Linked DNA regions of Homo sapiens: region 2 is linked to region 1. Evidence: promoter capture Hi-C in human tissues and cell types (Jung and others, 2019). All regions are on one chromosome and are shown on one strand. Each heading gives the region's core, a stretch centred on a gene start or on the middle of the fragment in contact. The rest is flanking DNA. Distances are from core to core; before and after follow the strand shown.

Region 1 (3,223 bases), core at 314-2,813:
TGTAGAGACAGGGTCTGACTATTGTTGCCAAGGCTGGTTTTGAACTCCTGGTCTCAAGCGATCCTCCTGCCTCAGCCTCCCAAAGTGCTGAGATGACAGGCATGAGCCACCAAGCCTGGGCTTGTATTGTTTATACTCAGTAATAAAGAGCAAAATTTATATAAGCAAAATCAGCCACTGTAAAGAGAGTTTAGACATAACCATCACAACTGCTTCCTCAAAAAGTGTCTGTACAAGCCACATCCACCTAGGGCAGGTGGCACCACCCCGCGTGAGAGAGCTGGGCGGAGGATGGACAGGGCTTCATCGCGGGAACTAGCTCCTGGGCCAGCAGGGTAACCCGGGAAATCCTGTCCAAACGGCTACATAAACCCCCCTGCAACGCTGAGCAGGAGAGCAGGAGCGTCTACACCGCCCCAGCCAGGGCGACTTCTGTCATTTGGATCCAGCAGCAGCGTGTTTCAGTCGAGCGCACGCACACACAGACACACAGACACACACAGACTCACAAACACACATACACACTCACACACACACAGGCGAGCACATACACTTACACACATACACACTCACACTCACACAGGTGCGCACACACACACAACGACTGAAGCAGGTCGCAGGTGGAGGCTCTAACAGGCAACTTTCCCTGCATCCAAGTTTGCACAAAACCTCACCCATGAGCTATCACGAGCTATGCCACGCACCCGGTGACAACCTCAACCGGCACGACCCCTCCGGTGGGTAAAACACCCGACGAAGGGGTTCCGCGGCGCGAGCAGGAGGCCGCGTTGGGAGAGGGCGTCGGGTGCGGAGCTCGCGAGTCTCCGGCAAGCCGCCGCCGCCCTGGGGCCACCTGACCCCGCTCCTGAACGCGGGGCCTCAGAGGCGAGTTTTGGGTCTACACAGCAAAATGTGGCCCGTTAGAAAGCGTCCTTCCTCACCGCGCCCAGAACAAGAAGCGGCGCTGCCTGGCGAGTCCTCGCCCGGCCTCCCCGCCCTGCCCAGAGCACCAGCGCGCAGCCCGCGCCCGCCACCACCCCCAACACAGACAAAGCCCCCGCGAGATGGAGCGGCGGTGTACAAAACCCACTCCGATCGGATCTGGGATGCGCCGCACCCCTAGTAGGGTTAAGTTCCACGAGAAGAAACCAGGACCCCCGAGTCACAGCCATAGACACCCACGCGTCCCCTAAGCCGGTGACTGCACCAGGTGCCCACCCGGTTCTGAGCCTGGAGCGGGGCCAGGGGCAGCCCTGCACCCTCCTCGCGCCTCGGACGGCCTCAGGGTCCCATGTGGCGCTATCGGGGGGCGCTCGGCACCCGCGACTGTTGGCGACTTTGGAGACGGCGCGGTCTGCGGGACGCGGGGACCCCAGACTGTGCCCGGTCCCCGGCCCCCGCCCCTGCGCCCCACTTCGGGGTCTGCGGAAGGAGCGGGGCGCCCCGATGCCGCGAGCGACGCTGGCCTCACCTGGCCGCCCGGGCCTGGGCTTTGCACGCGAGTCCTGGCGCCGAGAGCGTTCCGCGAAGCCTCCCCTCCCGCTCCGCAGCGCTGGGCGGTCTCAGCCTCGGCCTCGGGCTCTTATCCAGTAGACAGGGTCCGCCCCGCCCCGCCCTCCCGCCGACGGGGTCGCCCTCGCGTCCTGGCTCCTCCTCCTCACCTCCCCGGGCCGCGCCCCCGCCCCCGCCTCCCGGACGCAGATGGCTGGGAGCAAGCGGCGGCCACGGCTCCACTGTCCTGCGCGTCCCGGAGCCTCGGACACGGGGTGCGGGGGCCTGGGGGTCCGAGACGTCGCGGATCTAGACGGGCGCCTTCCACGCGGGAACTGTCTGGGCCGCCCTGCGCCCTCGCCCGCACCCCTGGGGGCTGCCCCGGGCACCCGCTATCTTCGGACGCCCAGGGCTGGCGGCTCCCAGCTGGACGGGGAGGGAGCCGAGCGGCTGCGCGCGGGGAACTGCTGGGACCCCGTCGGGCCGACCCTTCCCTCCCTCCCCATCAGGGGCCCCTACGGTGGCCCCGCGCTCTGGGGACCACGTCCCTCCCACCCCGCCGCTCCACGCTCTGACCAGCGGGCTCGGGACCCCGCCGAGGACTCTGCACGCTTCCCGGCGTGCGGGCTGCGGAGACGCGGGTCCTTCCGTGGCCTTGGGGTCTCCGCGACCTCGAGGCGACCGAGGTCCCCTAGGCCTAGTCCCCGCCTTGCCGGCATCTAGTGCGCCTGCATCGGAACCGAGGGGCCCGCCTCGCACTCGCCTAAGAAAACCATTTCCCGGGACGGGCCTGGAAAGCCCTGGCGGTTGGTATCCGGCTCCAGGGCCGAATGGACTCCGAGGCTTTCCTTCCGAGATGCCCGGGCGGGATTTCTTCCATTCAGCGCGCGGAGGAATGGAGCCCCCAGGCCGCCAAGGCCCAGGATGTCCAGGTCCTTAGAAGGCACCGAGGTGAGTGGCCGCGCCCAGCTCTGTGCGTCGCCCCTAGGGTCGCCCGAACCCCGGCGTTCCTCCCCGTGTACCCTCGATGCTCCCGTGAGCACCCTGCCCTGGGCGTCCAGGCGAGCCCTGGGGCTCTCCAGCCATTCCAGCCTGCAGCCCGCGCTCAGCAGTGAGGGAGGCAGGGACCCTTGGTGCCTGACTCCGCAGTACCCGCCCGCAGCGCGGTGCCCCACCCCCTGCGCCCGCCCCGCACTCCCCGCACACCACCACTCCCCTCCCCGCCCCCCGCTCCCCCGCTCCCCGGCTCCGGGGCTGGCACCCAGGCAGAAGGCACTCAGGGCTGTGACTTCACGCTGAGTTGGAATCAAGTGGGAGCCTAGTGACCCCCTGGGGCTGCCATGACAAAAAACTCCACAGCCTGGGGGCTCACACAGAAGCCTTCAGTTCTAACGGTTCCGGTGTCCCGAGGCCAAGGCCTGGCCGACTCTGTGTCTGGTGAGGGCCGCTTCGGGGTTGCAGACAGTTCTCTCCCTGTATCTCCCCACGCTAGGGGCTGGGGAGAGCTCTCCGGGGTCTGTTTTATGAGGGCACTGGTCCCATTCCTCAGGGTGGAGCCCTCCTGGCCTGACCACCTGAAGGCCTCCTGACACCACCTCCCATCAGGGGTGGGACTTCATCGCCAGGGAGGTGAGGGGACTTCAGGAGAGGGGGATGTGCCACCTCGAAGCTGTAGTGTGTCAGTGGCTGCCACAGAAGGGATCTCTCTACCCCTATTATCTCCATGGCACAG
Region 2 (3,300 bases), core at 801-3,300, 52 kb before region 1:
GCTGGTACCAGATGCCATCCACAGCTCACACGCCAGAGAGGCGGGATCCCACATGTGGCTCCTCACTCCTCCCTGCTCGAGGACTGCCGTGCCTTTGTTTTGGGGCTGGGGAATGTCCTCAGCTGGTTCTTCCCCCAATGCCCTGATCCTGGGCTCACATGTGACCGGTCCCTGCAGACCCCACACCTCTGAGAAAGGCTTCAGTGGCATGGGCCTAGGCTGGACCACGACGCACTCAGCAAAGCCCAGCTGTCTCTGTGACCAACGGCCATCTGGGCCGGCCCCTGCTGCCGAGCTGCTGGGACCACAGGCAGAGGAGACCCACCTGGCAGAGGAGACCCACCCAGCCCCGGAGCCCACCTCTCCGATTGCTGGGGCTTAATACAGTCGCCCATGAGGCTGTCGGAGTCCTTCAAGTCTCAGCCCACATAGTGACTTATGGCCACCCACACAGTATCTGCCTGGACCCCAGACCTGAGTGGTCAGCAGGGATCACACCTGGGGGCTCCAGGTGTGAGCTGTTAGGGCGGCACCTGTAGCAGGCGGGGTGTAGCCACCCCTGAGGGTAAGGGACATCCTATGTGACGATGGGGACGGTGGGAGGCACTAGTTAGGCTGCAGGCAGGTTCAGCCCTTGTAGGCAGCCCAGCACTTTTCCTGCCACAGAGTTCACTGACCCAGCTGAAAGGTGCGAGCGTCCTTCCTGTCCACACGCAGCCACGTGCTACGATGCAGCAGTAGCAGTGTCCCCATGTGCTGCCAGGCACAAAGCCCTCGGTGTGGGGTGTGCCCTCAGGCAGTTCGGGGCAGGGCTGCAGGTGGGGCTGGCGGGAGTGACGCTTGTCTTATCACAGGTCACTGCCTGGAAGGGGTGCTGCCATCCTATCACAGGTCATGCTGAGGGCATTGGCATTTACTCCAAGCACCAGGATAACCCTGGGGTTTCCTTGGGCTGTGGCCTGATCTGTTGGTATCTAGAAGAATCCTTTAGGCCACAGAGCGACGAAAGATGCTTGGACTGAGGACCAGGACCCACCAAGATCTGGGATGGGGCTTGGAAGAGGCTCTTGGGTTGGGCAGTGGCAGTGGTCAGGCAGTGTGGTTGGAGTCTGGACATGTGGGGAGCCCACAAGAATGCTGAAAGGCAGGTGAGGGGCTGGGGGAGAGCGGTGCAGGATGGCACGGAGGTCCAGCCTGAGCAAGTGGGCACGACATAAGGTGCCACAACCTGCCACAGGGGACCCTGCAGGAGTGCAGACGTGGGTGAGGGTCACCACTGCACCCAACACTGTGTGGGAGCCCAGGGAAGGGGAAACAGATCACACCCAGCACACCTGCGTGGGAGCCTGGGGAGGGGGACAGGTCACACCCAGCACACCTGCGTGGGAGCCTGGGGAGGGGGGACAGGTCACACCCAGCACACCTGCGTGGGAGCCTGGGGAGGGCGACAGGTCACACCCAGCACACCTGCATGGGAGCGTAGTGGATGTGTTATCTCTAACGTCTAGGCTTTAGGGGAGGCCGGAAGGAGAGATGGGCCAAGAGGCATCAGGTGAGGAAGCTTTGCTGTGGGTGGGCTGGGGTGGGGCAGAAGCTGACCTCGGGGTGTGAGCAGGTGAGCTGGGCCTGTGTAAATGGATGGGGCCCAGCGGAAACGAGACAAGGAGGCTGAGGCAGTTTTTCCATTGTGGATGTCTTTTATTGTGCTTAGGGACCCACACGATGCTGAATAGAGATTGGTCAACAGACACGGACAACACCTGGGTTGCTACACGGAGCCCCTCCCCAGAAGGCGATGGGGAAGCCGCTCTCTGTGCTGACTGCAGCAGCCAGAAGGCGATGGGGAAGCTGTCCTCTGTGTCCCTCCCCAGAAGGCAATGGGGAAGCCGCTCTCTGTGCTGACTGCAGCGGCCAGAAGGCGATGGGGAAGCCGTCCTCTGTGTCCCTCCCCAGAAGGCAATGGGGAAGCCATCCTCTGTGCTAACTGCAGCTGCCTGGCAGTTCACAGGCTGACGGCTCCCACCGAGCATTACACTCCAGTCCCTGGAGCCCACGTCCACTTGCAGGGGACAGCCATGACTGGCCCTGCACGGCCCCTGCCCTCGGGCAGCACGTAGGCAGGCCCACCGACTTGAGGCATGAATTCAAACTATGGCATCCACTTTCCTGTCAGTGGCAGAGGGCAGTGTGCCATGGAAAGCAGCTTTTGGCCAACATCCTTCACTCAGTATTGCTAATTATTCTTGTAAACAAAAACTGCAATATCAGCAAGCAGGCTCGCGGATACTGCATTCTTGAATTTGTTTTGATTCACAGGTAAATATGATTTTAAAAAGCCATTCGCAAACATAAAAACTGTTGTTATTGATGTGGCACGCACCTGAGAGAAATAAAATTCCAGTGGGGTCCCTTCCTGGAGGTCACGGCTCAAGGCCAGGCAGAGTGTGGTCTGCAGGCTGCCTGCATGGGGGCCCTGCATGCGTCCTGGGGTAGTACACGCTCCTGTGGGGGCCCTGCATGCATCCTGGGGTAGTACACGCTCCTGTGGGGGCCCTGCATGCGTCCTGGGGTAGTACACGCTCCTGTGGGGGCCCTGCATGCGTCCGGTCCGGGGATAGGACACGCTCCTGTGGGGGCCCTGCATGCGTCCTGGGGTAGTACACGCTCCAGTGGGGGCCCTGCATGCGTCCTGGGGTAGTACACGCTCCTGTGGGGGCCCTGCATGCGTTCTGGGGTAGTACACGCTCCTGTGGGGGCCCTGCATGCGTCCAGGGATAGGACATGCTCCTGTGGGGGCCCTGCATGCGTCCGGGGATAGGACACGCTCCTGTGGGGGCCCTGCATGCGTCCGGGGATAGGACACGCTCCTCTCAGGCCGTTCCCTACACCGCAAGGACCCACAGGCTGCCTGAGTGGCAGTAGCCTGAGCTGGTTTCAAGGAGTTTTATTTCTCTCTGCTGCAAGAACATAAACAGAATTTCCTGGTGAGACATACCAGGACCCCCATCCTCCAATGCCTCTGAACAGACTGTGTGTGCAATGTGTCAACTGAACGCTCAATTTACGGCCTCTGCTGGGAGCCACGCATCGGGAAAGGACTTTGCATGAATTTGTGGTTTCCTCCATTTCACCTTCTGCACAGCTAAACCAAGCAGGACACTTGGCTTTTTAATATGGGCAAAGTAAATGGTCTAGGAAGCTACTGTGAGCACGGGGATTCTCAGCAGGTGCGTCTACAAGGATCGTGATCCCCGCCTGAGAACACAGTGCCCCTGGGGCAGCCTCAGAGCCGGGAGCAGG

Evidence for each region. The method cuts DNA at HindIII sites, captures the fragments that hold promoters and counts their contacts. A contact is called where the count stands out against the background at its distance.
Region 2: a fragment that was not itself captured here is called in contact with the fragment with the promoter of SLC6A3 in region 1 in 1 of the 25 tissues and cell types used here (stomach).

Annotation. Positions count from the first base shown.
Region 1 is chr5:1,443,877-1,447,099 of GRCh38, forward strand. SLC6A3 (solute carrier family 6 member 3) reads right to left here and starts at 1,564. Exons shown (of 15, transcript NM_001044.5): 1 at 1,472-1,564. RefSeq lists an enhancer at 2,202-2,701. The HindIII fragment of the contact is 20,714 bases long and covers 1-3,223 here.
Region 2 is chr5:1,391,117-1,394,416 of GRCh38, forward strand. SLC6A3 (solute carrier family 6 member 3) reads right to left here. Exons shown (of 15, transcript NM_001044.5): 15 at 1,678-3,300. Among named protein-coding and RNA genes, the nearest start is that of LINC01511, 13 kb to the left of the region's middle. The HindIII fragment of the contact is 8,724 bases long and covers 1-3,300 here.